4 separate regions of the Homo sapiens genome follow, and regions 2, 3 and 4 are each linked to region 1. The links are contacts of gene promoters, found by promoter capture Hi-C in blood cells and fetal thymus (Javierre and others, 2016). All regions are on one chromosome and are shown on one strand. Each heading gives the region's core, a stretch centred on a gene start or on the middle of the fragment in contact. The rest is flanking DNA. Distances are from core to core; before and after follow the strand shown. Region 1 holds the start of PANK3 (pantothenate kinase 3). Region 2 has its middle 2.5 kb from the start of CCNG1. Region 3 holds the start of HMMR-AS1 (HMMR antisense RNA 1). Region 4 overlaps MAT2B (methionine adenosyltransferase 2 non-catalytic beta subunit).

The links. Contacts are between HindIII fragments. The CHiCAGO score rates a contact against its expected background, and 5 or more counts as called.
Region 2: a fragment that was not itself captured here is called in contact with the fragment with the promoter of PANK3 in region 1 in 2 of 17 cell types (total B cells and naive B cells); the score reaches 11.3 in total B cells.
Region 3: the fragment with the promoter of HMMR-AS1 here is called in contact with the fragment with the promoter of PANK3 in region 1 in 4 of 17 cell types (naive B cells, naive CD8 T cells, total B cells and 1 more); the score reaches 9.5 in naive B cells.
Region 4: a fragment that was not itself captured here is called in contact with the fragment with the promoter of PANK3 in region 1 in 1 of 17 cell types (naive CD8 T cells); the score reaches 7.9 in naive CD8 T cells.

Annotation. Positions count from the first base shown.
Region 1 is chr5:168,577,695-168,581,012 of GRCh38, forward strand. It overlaps PANK3 (pantothenate kinase 3), which reads right to left and starts at 1,674. Exons shown (of 7, transcript NM_024594.4): 1 at 1,562-1,674. The coding sequence starts at 1,589. RefSeq lists enhancers at 1,402-1,471, 1,562-2,105 and a silencer at 1,622-1,951. The HindIII fragment of the contact is 14,951 bases long and covers 1-3,318 here.
Region 2 is chr5:163,433,478-163,436,795 of GRCh38, forward strand. It overlaps a transcript of LOC105377700 not described here. Among named protein-coding and RNA genes, the nearest start is that of CCNG1, 2.5 kb to the right of the region's middle. The HindIII fragment of the contact is 2,311 bases long and covers 542-2,852 here.
Region 3 is chr5:163,492,489-163,495,806 of GRCh38, forward strand. It overlaps HMMR-AS1 (HMMR antisense RNA 1), which reads right to left and starts at 1,570. Exons shown (of 4, transcript NR_109892.1): 1 at 1,211-1,570; 2 at 955-1,061. The HindIII fragment of the contact is 5,178 bases long and covers 1-3,318 here.
Region 4 is chr5:163,511,702-163,515,019 of GRCh38, forward strand. It overlaps MAT2B (methionine adenosyltransferase 2 non-catalytic beta subunit), which reads left to right. Exons shown (of 7, transcript NM_013283.5): 2 at 301-495; 3 at 1,854-1,968; 4 at 2,141-2,293. Among named protein-coding and RNA genes, the nearest start is that of MAT2B, 7.7 kb to the left of the region's middle. The HindIII fragment of the contact is 1,444 bases long and covers 1,097-2,540 here.

The DNA.
Region 1 (3,318 bases), core at 424-2,923:
GGAGGTAGTACTCATACCTGATTATTAGTTTGTTCAAATCTAAGTAATCAAATCACTATCATGACAAAAGAAAATAATCACCACCACAAGAGTCAGAATTTGAGTTGGTCATACACTGTTCACCAAATGGAAATTCTAAGAGAAGCAGAGAAAACGTATGCGTGAGGGAAAATGTCCAAGTGTTCTAATTACTGCACCTGTTCAAGATGCATTAGTTTAATTCAGCAAATGAAAATTTAAAGTCTCTCTATATTACTTTTCATTTAAGCCTTCACATCACTATTTTATAGATTTCTTGAACAACTATGACAGGATCTATTCAGTTATAAATAATTTTTTAAAAATTTTAATTAACAGATGAAACTACCAGATAAAGTACTTAGACAATGCTCTATGGGTGCAAGAGAAAGAACACTGTATTATGAGTCAGTCCCCTTAGAGTTATGAACCACATAGCACATGGTTGGTACATGCTTGGAAAAGTTACTCTGGGGCTAAGTTCAATTTCCTCACCTGTGAAGTTAAGACCAAATTACCTTACAGTTATATAGGAATTTGTAGTTTTCACAGGGTTTTGGCTTGTTGCCTCTCAGGTGAGTTTTACAGGAACCCCGATAGGCGGGCAGGGAAGGTGTCAGCGCCCTGTTTTATAGTTGTGGATTTCTTAACAGTTAAAGAGATCACATGAAACACTGTAAAAACAGCAAAAGTATCAATACGACTCTAAGATGAGCATGAATCCCCACGTTCCTAGTCCTTCTGGGAGGCTATACTTAAAAAGAGTGACAATCACAATGGCTGGGTGATTAAATAAGTCAATTACTGGAATAAAAGGTTTTTAAAAGACTAAACATAAAAGGAAGCAAATGAAAGTCGACCTTTCTAAAAGCATAGTCAGAATTTAAGTACATGCATAGAAAAATATCTACGGGTATTCACCATAATATTAATAGCGGTTCGCTCCGGGTGCGGGGAATACGGGTGACTTTATCTTTCTTGTTTATCTGCGTTTTCTAAAACAAACATGAACTAGTTGATATTCTAAACAAAAACAAGCCAAAGCAATTACACACTGGCAGACTGCATGCACGTACGTTTGAAAGCTCCAACTGTAACAACAGTGACAACTCCCAGGAACCCACCGGCATTTCAAGGACACAAGCAGGAAGCCCGGAAATCCCTAAAAACAGGTGCTAAAAGCCGCCAGCGCAACCTGACAGCCGCGACCGCCTCTTTTCAACCTGAATTCAGGGGGAGCTGGGAGAGGAGACTAGTCTGGTTTGACAAAAATCAGAATCAGAAATTCCCTCTGGCACCTCCCAGATCTCGAAGAGAAAGTGGGAGGAAAGGCTAGGGGGCGGCAGGCATTCACCATGCATGAATAGGGGGATGGGGAGGACGGAAGCCTCGAACTCGTGGCTCAAATGGTCCCTCCGCCCCCATACCGGACGAAGCGCCGGCGAGGAGCGACGGGCTTGGAAGCCGACCGCCCAGCCAAGGGGCTTTCAGACGGGGCCCAAGGGTGCCCTCCCAACCTGGCGGGCCCCAGCCCCCGTCTTACAGGGTTTCTTGGCATCTTTGATCTTCATGGCGTCGGCCCGAGGGGCGATGGACGGCCTCCGATCCGGGGCACTGAGAGCAGAGGCGGCGACTCCGGAGGTGGCTGGGCCGCGCGGCGAGGCCCGGCCGGTTCCTCCCCTCAGGCCGGGCGGGGCCGGCCTAGGGCGGGGCGGCGGCGCCTGAGGAGATGCCCGGCCCAGGGGGCGGCCCCCCACCCCCGCGAGGGGTGGCCGGGACCGAGCAAGCTGGGGAAGGCCGCCGGCCTCGCCGCTCCGGGGCCCCCCCGCAGCCGCTCCAAACAAAAGGCCCCGGTCCCCGGAGCCGCCGCCACCGCCGCCGCCGCCGCACTGAGAAATAGCCCGCCCAGGCCGAACGCCCACGTGACGCGAGCCCCCCCTCGCTCCGCTTCCGCCCGGCTGCTGGGGATTGTAGTTCTCCGGTTCGTGAGGCCCCGCTCTCTGGCTGTAGTTGTGCAGGTGGACTACAAAGCCCGAGATGCATCGCGGCCCCTCCTCCGAGGCCCCTCAGCTTCCGCAGATCGCCTCAGAGTGGTCCCAGCGAGAAGAGGGCTGGGTCTTAGTCACGCCAGCGAGGAGGCGACCAATGGTGACTGAGATGGGCGTGCTGGGGAAGTCGGGCTCAGACCTCAGCAGGTCGCGGAGAGAAGGGGGAATGAACTCTTCGAGAGGACTGTCATGGCTGTTCGGCCATTCTCAGATTTCCCCTTGAGACAGGAAAGCTGGTCGTCAGGCCATGGAAAGCGCTACAATCAGGGCTCTAGAGCTGTGCTTAAGATAGACCCTTGAGTACATTGGCGGATTAAAATTATTCACAAAGGAATCCTTTTGCTTAATAGAGACACCTTGAATGTTAGGGTCGGAATGATGACAATAGCAGGAATAGAGGTAACATCTATGGAACGCGTTATGTTCATGGGACTCTGCTAAGCACTTTGTGTGATTTACTTAAATTCAGGGGCCTTGTGGACCACGTGCAATTATTCATTTTATTGTCACTCATTTTGAAGATGGGGCACGGTCTGAGGAGTTAAATTGCTTGCTGAGCATTCTTTTTGCCACCGATCCATATTCCCCTGGGGCCCTCCAGCCCAGCTCTCTCCTTCTAAAGGGAAAACTGACTCCCAGAGAAGAAAATTTAGTTGCTCCAGTTCTCACAGTAAAGCCAGGACACCCTTTCCCCTTGCCTCCTAGAGTCTTAGTCCTCCAGCTGGAATGGGAGAAGATGGCATTGGGTATCTTCTCTTGGCCTTCACTTTTGTTGCCCAGTTAGATGGCCAGGAATTCTGTAGTTTTTACAATAGATGGATAGAGGGTTGGCAGTAGAGGATTGGGCATTCCAGTCAAAGAAACCCGCTTACCAAAGAGCCTTACTGCCCCTTCTTGCAGATGATAAGCCAAGGGATGTGAAGAAGGACAGGAGAGGACACAAGCTACCATTTATTGAGTACATACCAAGGGCTGACACTTTGCAAAGTGCCTTACTTTTAAAATTTAAATTTAATCCTCCCAACTACTTTTTGAAATACAATGATTAAAAACTAAAAAAACTTGCTGGGCGCAGTGGTGTGTGTCTGCAGTCCCGGCTATTTGGGAGACTAAGGTGGGAGGCCCAGGAATTTGAGGCTGTATGTGATAGAGTTTGTGAATAGCAACTGTGTCAGAGGCATTTACCAGAGCGACTCCATCTTGAATAGGGATTGGATGAAATAAGGCGGAGATCTACTGGGCTGCATTCCCA
Region 2 (3,318 bases), core at 447-2,946, 5.1 Mb before region 1:
CCCATTCCTTCTCCTTCCAAAGCAGGAGACAACAGAGACACCTGCAGTGTTGGCTTCTGACTGGAGGACAATGACCCAGCTGATCCTTCTGACGTCTTACGTTCACAGAGAACAGCAGCCAACACATCCTGTGGCTCAAAAGCTGTAGCAGCATTTTTTATCTGGGATTACAAAATACAATGGTCTGGCACTTACAAAGTTCTCAAGAAATACTTGTTGATAGACAAACAAAGTAAACAGTCAACATGGGCAAAATGTTGATTATTGAAGCTGGGTAATGAGACTTAAATGTTCTGAAATAGAAACTTTTTAAAAAACTGCAGAAAAATCCAAATTCAAGTTTTGTGTGAAGTATATTTAGTAAATAGTAAACAGTTACTAAACATGAGATATATAAAATATCCCACATTTCTGAAGAGAATAAAAATATCAGAGTTGTCAAAGGCAGGTGTGTTTAAGTTCAGCACGATGACCTGGCACATGGGAAACATATAATAAATGCAAACCCTATATAGTACGTTTTTGGCTGGTCTTGGCTTTAAGCTTTGTACTCAACAGAGTCTAAAGCCATTAGAGAACAGAGGATCCCCCTCTAATGTGACCCAGTGCCTTTATATAGCAGTGGTTACTTGATGAGTCAAAAATTTAGTTTTTCATGAAATATATAGTAAAACCTCAATTAATTGGAAGGGGTTACTTTATCTGAGTATAGAAGTGGTAGCTAGAACCTCTGAGTAGAAGGATATTCATGGAATTGTTAATCTATGTTTTTTATGTATCCTTCTCTGTCTTTCTCCTCCCAACCATACTTAATTTCACTGGTGTCCCATAAACTAATAAAGAATTAAAGGAGCCACTGACAAGCAAGTTAACTTCAAATGAATAAGATAGACTAGATGCACTAGAGAACAGCTAGAGAAGTGGAGGAGGCTGTAATGCACAGTTACAGGAAGGATCAGAAAGCAGAAGGGAACTCAGCTGAGATCTTTTTGACCCTCACTTCCTTGGCCCTTATCATAGTTGGACAAGGCTACACACAAAAGTACCAGACATTTATTAGGGAGCCTGAAAAGAGGGTAAGGTGATTGGACATTGTGTGCAGGAGGGAAGGCACAGACTCCCACATCTCCAAGATGGAAACAAACAAAGCCAACCGGGAATTTCCCTGTGAGTCAGGGCAGTATTTGACACACCACCACTGTTTTATACCTGCTTGTTATAATCTTTGTTGTTGAAAGGCATGTCTACAGCCTACCATGCGGAGAATATGATTACATCTTCCCGTTACTGCCTGGATTCTTGCCCAGCCTCAAGGCCATTATTCTGACCATTAGTTCTTGTTGTACTTAACTGTTAATGGAGAAGAAGGTATGAGGATAGGAATTGAATACATCATTGAGCCTAGAATATACCCCCAGAAGTCAGTCATTTAACAAATTTTCAATAGGAATTCATGATTAAATCCACACTTCTTTAAAAATAAAATCATAGTTAACGAAGGGCTCATTATCTTTATTTTACAAGAGTGGATAACTGAGTATTACATTTCCACATTTTGCTAATTAGGTCTTTTCAATTATTTAAATGATGGTCTATATTCTAACATTTTGAAATGAAAATGGCAGAGGGGGTTAAGGGAGGAAGAAAAGTAAAGAATTTCAATTTGACTTGATTTATATTTAATTAATGTCTCTCCAGTACTAGTGAAATATTTTTATGTGAGAGATTTTAATAAAAAGTAAAAATATTCTAATGTACGAGAAAATACTGTATTATATAAACAATGATATATTACCTAAAAGCCCTCAAGTGAAAATTTCAAGTATAAAAACGTATAGAAATTAATACATGCAATTTAGATATTTTTATCTGTGTTAAATAAACAGTTCTAATACTCTGATTATCCTTCTAGGCTGAAAACAGAAGACTAGTCTGATAACAGAGAAAACACATCAAAGTGTGTTTAAGCAAGATATTTAAAAAGAAATAGTAATTTAATACTAAGGGCTACCATTTATCAAGAAATCTACTGTGATCTGGGAATAGTGACTACCTCTTTATGCACTTTCTATTATTTAATCCTCTTCATAACCCCATGAATAATGTATTTTTTACTTCTCATTGTTGAGAAAAGAAAATGTGATTAAATAACTTGCTGAAAGTCACATAACAAGTTATGAGCTATTCCTGGATATGAATATAAGTTTATTTTATTCTAAAGTCTATGTGTTTATATTGCCCACAGGTTACATGTTCTACAAGGACGGGTACCAGTCTAATTTGTTCTCCACTGGCCTATGCTATGTGTTCAATAAATATTAGTTAATTTATTCGTGCTTTTGATTGCTATAAAGAATTTTTTTTTTTTTAGACCAAGTCTTGCTCTGTTGCCCAGGCTGGAGTGCAGTGGCACCATCTCGGCTCACTGCAACCTCTACCTCCCAGGTTCAAGCGATTCTCCTGCCTCAGCCTCCCGAGTAGCTGGGATTACAGGCACGTGCCACCATGCCCAGCTAATTTTTGTATTTTCAGTAGAGACGGGGTTTCACCATGTTGGCCAGGTTGGTCTCAAACTCCTGACCTCAGGTAATCCACCCGCCTCTGCCTCCCAAAGTGCTGGGATTATAGGTGTGGGCCACCGCGCCCAGCCTGCCATAAAGATTTTATGATTTTTTAGCCATTTTTTTTAAAAATTGTGCATATACATTCCTAATTTTAGGAATTAGGAATAATAGGAACTAAAAGCCAAAAGGAGAAACTACATTTATAAACTCACACATTACAGCAAAAAGTATTTTTAAATAAAATCACTTGTTAAAGGTTATAAATTGCCAATTTATATTCACTAGGTAAGCTTTTATTTTCAAAAGGAACAAAGGCCTCTTCCCCATTTGAGCCCCAGTTTCTTAAACTGACCTGATTATGTGGCTAAGGTATTATTGTGAGGTATTGATGTTTTCTCCTGTTTTTCCTTCCCCTTCCTCCCCACCCCTTTTCCCCCTTTCCAGAGTTTTGTTCTGTGGCATTGCCTTGGGTAAGTACACGGCAGGGCAAATAGCAGAGTGACGGCAAATCTTTCAGATTTTCACTTTTTCAAAGTAAGAGAGACCGAACTGGGGCCATGAGAACAGAGACATCCAACTACTGTGTAATTCATAAGAGTTTAGAAATGACTCCTTGTGCACCCTTTTTCAGGCCCTTTTACAAATGGACTTTTCTCACTTGTGATGATCTGGGAGAGTGAGAGTGAGGAGAGTCTAAGAAGAGTTCAGGCTAATTATTTTCCCACTAATCTGGCATAGGAGAGGCTCACAGAGA
Region 3 (3,318 bases), core at 320-2,819, 5.1 Mb before region 1:
ACTGCCCAAAGTTCTGCCCACTGGGAGGATTTCTCTTTACCACTATCCTTCAGGGATGTCCCAGAGAAGGGCTGGTGTACTATGGCTATCCACTTTCAGGTGATGCCTACATATCACACAGAACCATCTATAAACTAGGCCCATGTTGTTTCTTCCTGTCAACTCATCATAGGGAACTCTCCATGAGCTTGGGAGAAAAAAGGCAAGGTAGCAGGAACAGGGACCATGGGCATTTGGGTCACTTCTTCATGTAACTTGCTTTTGCCTTCAGGTCCTGCCTGGGCCCAGTCACATACATAACACGTTCTTTGATGATGTACTCCTGCTGTCCACACCCAGCATTATGGCTTGTGGGTCAGATAACACCCAGCTCATGATGGGCAGCTCAGGTCGCATGGTAACTTAATTGACCACGGTAAGCATTCAGTCCCTACTGAAGCCCAGCAGTAGGCCCAGAGCTGTTTCTCAAAAGAGTAGTTATCTGCATAGGATAACAGGTCTTTCTTCAAAATACTAAGGGTCTGCACTGAGATTCATCTATGTGGGCCTGCCAAAGGTTCCAACAGCATCTCTATCTGCCACTGACACTTCAAATACCACTGGATCTGCAAGTTCATATGTCCCAAGCAACAAAGCCGCTTACACAATAGCCTGGACCTATTGCAGAACCTTTCCTATTCTGAGTCCTACTCCAAACTAGCAGCTTTTCAAGTCACTCAGTAAATGGGCCAGAGTAACAAACTCAAATGAGGAAACGTCTTCAAAATCCAAAGAGGCCTGCCGCATGTCATGCCTCTTCTGGTTGTAGGAGGGGGCAGATGCAAAAACTTACCTTAGAAGGGGTATCTCAACATGCCTCATACCACTGGACCCCTAGAAATTTTACTGAGACATGAAAAAGCCTTTGAATTTTTGTTGGATTTACTTCCCACTTCTGACATGCAAATGTCTTACCAATAGGTCTGGAGTAGTTGCTATGTCTCACTCATTAGGTCCAGTGAGCATAATGTCGTCAATGTAATGGACCAATGTGATGTGGAAAGAAAAGGCAATCAAGATTCCTGTGAACAAAATTAGGACAGGGCTGGTGAGTTGATATGCCCTGAGGTAGGACATGAAGGTGCATTTCTAGCCTTGCTAGCTAAAAGCAAACTGCTTCTGGTCGGCCTTATAGACAGGGATGGAGAGAAAGGCATTTGCCAGATCATACCAGGTAGCTGCATACCAGGAACCAGGAGTTGTGTTAATTTGCTCAAGCAATACATCTGGTACTGTAGCTGCAATTGGAGTCACCACCTAGTTAAGTTTGTGATAATCCATCTGTCTTCTGCCCAGGCTAAATAGGCGAGTTGAATGGACATATGGTAGGAATCACCACCCCGCCTTCCTTCAAGTACTTATGGTGGCACTAATCTCTTCAGTCCCTATAGGAATTGAGCATTGCTTTTGGTTTACTATTTTCCTAAGTACAGATAGTTCTAGTGGCTTCTACTTGGCCTTTTCCACCATAATAGCCCTCACTCCATAGGTAAGGAAACCAATGTGTGGATTATTCTGTCAGCTGCTGACTGTATTCTAATTATACATTCTAGAACTAGGGGATAACCACAGGATAGGTTCAGGAATTCACTGGGCCCATTGTGAGATGGAACTAAGCTAAAACTCTGCTGATCACCTGACCTCCATAAGCTGCTACCCTGACAGTAGCACTTTGGATCTCCTGAAATTAGTGTCACTTCAGAGAGCCAGTGTCCACTAGTTCACAAAAGATCTGATTATTCCCTTTTTCTAATGCACAGTTACGTTGGTAAAGGTTGTACATCCCTTTGCGGAGGACTAGGAGAAAGACTAACAGTATAAACATTTGGTTATGGACCAGGGTCCCTTTGAGGTCCTCCCCTTCAATCAAAGGGTTTTGGGCTCTATAAAGTGGCTCAAGTTTGGGAATTAAGGGACCACGATTCTGTTTTTATGATTCGAGTTCAACTTTCGTCACTTGACTTAGAAGTTTTCTGCTTATACAGATCAAGTTAAGACTTCAGTAGGCTTCCTATCTATTTCACGTCTAGGAAAACCATGATCAACTAGCCAAAGCATAGGTCTACAAGTGAGATTATTCTAATTGTTCCTTTGGCTCTGTCATTATGATAACCACTTCACCTTGCCTTTGGTGGTTGAGTCCCATTACTTGACCCTTGCCACCCTGGGATCCTTTACTTCCATTATATTTAGGTTTTCCAGTTCAGTGACTGCAGTGAGCTCTGGCCTACAGAGAAGAGCCATCACAGAGTTCTGAAAAAGATGCTGGAGCTCTCCTCGCAAATTTCTTTCTCATAGTATTGGTGAAAGGTATGCTTTCTTGACCTTCCCAGTGTGGATGAGTAGTTCTTTTTTTTTTTTTTTTTTTGAGACGGAGTCTCGCTCTGTCGCCCAGGCCGGACTGCGGACTGCAGTGGCGCAATCTCTGCTCACTGCAAGCTCCGCTTCCCGGGTTCACGCCATTCTCCTGCCTCAGCCTCCCGAGTAGCTGGGACTACAGGCGCCCGCCACCGCGCCCGGCTAATTTTTTGTATTTTTAGTAGAGACGGGGTTTCACCTTGTTAGCCAGGATGGTCTCGATCTCCTGACCTCATGATCCACCCGAGATGAGTAGTTCTTAAGTGAAAAATCTAATTTCCCAATATTCCTAAACCTTTTAATCCCATCCTCTAGATTAAACCAAGGCATGTCCAGCACTTCCAATTCATCTTTTCCATGTTTTAGTAAGCCAATCAAACTGTGAGCACCCTTTCTAACTCCCCAAGCTGCAATGTTAAATGCAGAATCTTGGCTTAGTGAGCCCATGTCAATAAATTTGACCTGATCCAACTTTATGTTCCTTCCATCATTTTCCAACACCTTTATTATCCATTCCGACATATGTTCCCAGATTTTTGTCTGTATAAATTAGAGACTTTGAGTAACTCTTTGGAGTATAGCACATCTCTTCATAGGTAACACTTTGTTCCTGTCTAGTTTCAGGTCTAGAAGCAAAGAAGGGTGGTGGAGTTGGGTCTGGAGGAGAACCAACATTGTCTTGCATATCAACTGCCTCAAAGGAGGCCATTACAATTTCCTCAGGCAATGCAGTGTTAATCATCACAGACAGGTTGGAGGGTACTATCACTGGAAATGGAGAAGCTGCTTCCAATGGGGTTGAGAAGCCTCTCCACTAGCAAAGAAGACTCATCAGAATTTAGGGGCTTAATGTCCCCAGCTTCATCAAGGTCTTCCCATATGTCCCAATCCTAATTTACAGAATCCCATTTTTTTTTCAGT
Region 4 (3,318 bases), core at 569-3,068, 5.1 Mb before region 1:
TAAATACAAAGTATATTTTTACTGTTTTTTTGTATTGAGATGGGTCTCATTATGTTACCCAGGCTGGTCTCAAGTTCCTGGGCTCAGCGGAGCTGCCTGCCTCGCATTCCCAAAGTGTTGGAATTACAGGCATGAGCCTGATGCCCGACCCTAACTTAACTTTAGAATTGGCTTGCAGATATGGGACATGAGTCAAAATACGTAGAATTAAGACATTTAGGGAACAACGATGGTGCCTAATATATTTGAGAGAACTGTTTTCAAAGTTAGTAACTCTTTCTATCCGCCTTCACCTTTTAGGAGGAAGTTAACATCCCTAATAGGAGGGTTCTGGTTACTGGTGCCACTGGGCTTCTTGGCAGAGCTGTACACAAAGAATTTCAGCAGAATAATTGGCATGCAGTTGGCTGTGGTTTCAGAAGAGCAAGACCAAAATTTGAACAGGTTAATCTGTTGGATTCTAATGCAGTTCATCACATCATTCATGATTTTCAGGTATGATTTAGGTTATTTTAAGATATACATGAACAATATTAAGAGTTGTCTGGATGATACAGAAACTATCCTTGCTCTCAAGGAAATTACTATGTTTGAAAGCTCTAAAGTTGTATTATGCAGTAGCATTTTTTTCATTTAGCATGACATGGTATATGTAAACCTTAAAGTTAAATTTTGACACGCTGACAAAGACAAATATGAGACATTTTATAAAATGCTTATGTTTATAGAGTGCCTTCTAAGTAATACTTTCTCTGCAAATGGTTTTCAAATGTTACTGTAAACCTCACAACACTGCAAAATAGTTATTTTCATTTTAGGGCTGAGGGAGCAGGCTCAGAGAGGTTTTCGGTATCATTGATACTATTCTCCCTTTGACATGGATTTATTAGATATTTAAATCATGTTAATTGCATAAATGATAGCTCTTTCCTTTTGTCCAAATTGGGGGATAAAACTTGTTTTGATTTAGAAAGACTTCTGTTTTGTTCTTGTTTTTGTGACGTAATCTTGGTTTGTTGCCCAGGCTGGAGTGCAGTGGTGCAGTTGAGCTCACTGCAGCCTCCGCCTCCCAGGGTTCAAGCAATTCTCCTGCCTAAGCTTCCTGAGTACCTGAGACTACAGGCATGCGCAACCACACCTGGCTAATTGTTGTATTTCTAGTAGAGATGGGGTTTCACCATGTTGGCCAGGCTGGTCTTGAACTCCTGACCTCACGTGATCCACCCACCTCAGCCTTCCAAAGTGCTGGGATTACAGATTTGAGCCACCGCGCCCAGCCTAGAAACATGGTTGTTTTATTTTCAGACAGGGTCTCACTCTGTAGCCCAGGGTGAAGTACGGTAGATCGATCACAGCCCACTGTAGCCTTGAATTCCTTGGCTCAAGTGATCCTTCTGCCTCGGCCTCCACAACAGTTAGAACTACAGGCTCATGCCACCACGACTGGCTGATTTTTAAATTTTTTTGTAGAGATTGAGTACCAACCACTATGTTGCCTAGTCTTATCTTGAACTCCTGGCCTCAAGCATTGTCTCACCTCAGCCTCCCAAAGTGTTGGGATTACATGCATGAACCGTCACACCAGAGTAGAAATACAGTTGTTGACAGTTTTTTTCCTGGTTTGTGTCTGCATATTATGAAATACTCTTTTCAGTGCCTATAAATATTTTAAGTTTGAACCTTGCGGGGAAAAGAAGCAGCATGACAAAACTACATTAGAAATTACAATGATTTATTCTTAGTTGAAAGAATGTTGACTTACTGCACATTTTTCTCTGAATTAACTTTAAGAAGGCTGTAATACCTCTTTCATTTTATTTTGAGTTAAAAATACGTCAATGCTTAACTTCTAGCCCCATGTTATAGTACATTGTGCAGCAGAGAGAAGACCAGATGTTGTAGAAAATCAGCCAGATGCTGCCTCTCAACTTAATGTGGATGCTTCTGGGAATTTAGCAAAGGAAGCAGGTAATGATGACTTTATAAAATTTTCATAAAATATTAAGTGATTGCTGAGTTTTTAGAAATTAAGGTTTTGTAGATGGTTATTTGTTTTTATATATCATGAAAAACCATTCTAAATTCCATGAAAGAGTAATGTCATGTAAACATTTAATAGATTTGTCTTCTTTTTTTGTAGCTGCTGTTGGAGCATTTCTCATCTACATTAGCTCAGATTATGTATTTGATGGAACAAATCCACCTTACAGAGAGGAAGACATACCAGCTCCCCTAAATTTGTATGGCAAAACAAAATTAGATGGAGAAAAGGCTGTCCTGGAGAACAATCTAGGTAAGACCTAATCTATTTAGCCCCTGATTGTTTTTGAAGACTTTAAAAATCATTTATACATACACATATATATGTTTTAAATTTAAAAAGTCAATGAATATGAATCATTAGAGAAAAATTAGAATATAGTTAATAAAGAAAATAAAAAATTCTAAGAGATAACTACTTTGTGAATCCTTCAAGACAGTTTCCACTATCAGTGTTTACATATTCATCTTTACACATAGAAAACAAGTCAGGTAATACAAGCTTTTGTAACTCATTTTCAAAAAACAGGGCAGTATAATTTCTCTTAGAGTGAGATATTCTGTTTATGTATTCTGTTATATGTATGTTACTGTGTTATATGTGTATGTATTTTGTTTTTATGTATTCTGTTATATGTATGTTGTATGTATTAACATTCTATTATGGTGTTTCTTTTTTCCTGTATGTGAGTTTGTGTATAACACACATCTCCATATATAAAAAGTATACACTCCTTAGAAAAAATGTAAAATTACTAAGAACAAAAGTTCTCATAAATGCTGCCTCAGGGAGATAAACACCAAATATGGTTAAGTGTGGAAGCATTTTTATATATTTTCAAAAAATGTATGCATGTTGTTTCACAACCTGTTTTTTTTCCCTCAACATCTTTGCATTTTAGTACACATGGAACCTACTCTGGGATATCTTACTCCTATCAGTGGCTGCGTAGTACTTAATTTAATGGTCCCCTGCACTAAAACTACTGCCTTAGACTGTACTATGGCCTTGAGAAGCAGCCCTAGTGTAGAATACCTTACTAATGGACATTTAGTTTTTTAAAAAGTTTTCTTGTATTATAAATTATTCTGTTGAAATCATCCTTGAATACATTTGTCTTAGTTTATTTCGTGCTGCTATAACAGAATACCAACAACTCAGTAATTTATAAAGAACAGAAATTTATTTCACACAGTTCTAGAGGCTGAGAAGTCCAAGATCAAGGTGAGGGTCTTTCTGGTCCTCTGGAGGGGAGGAATGCTGTGTTCTCACGGCAG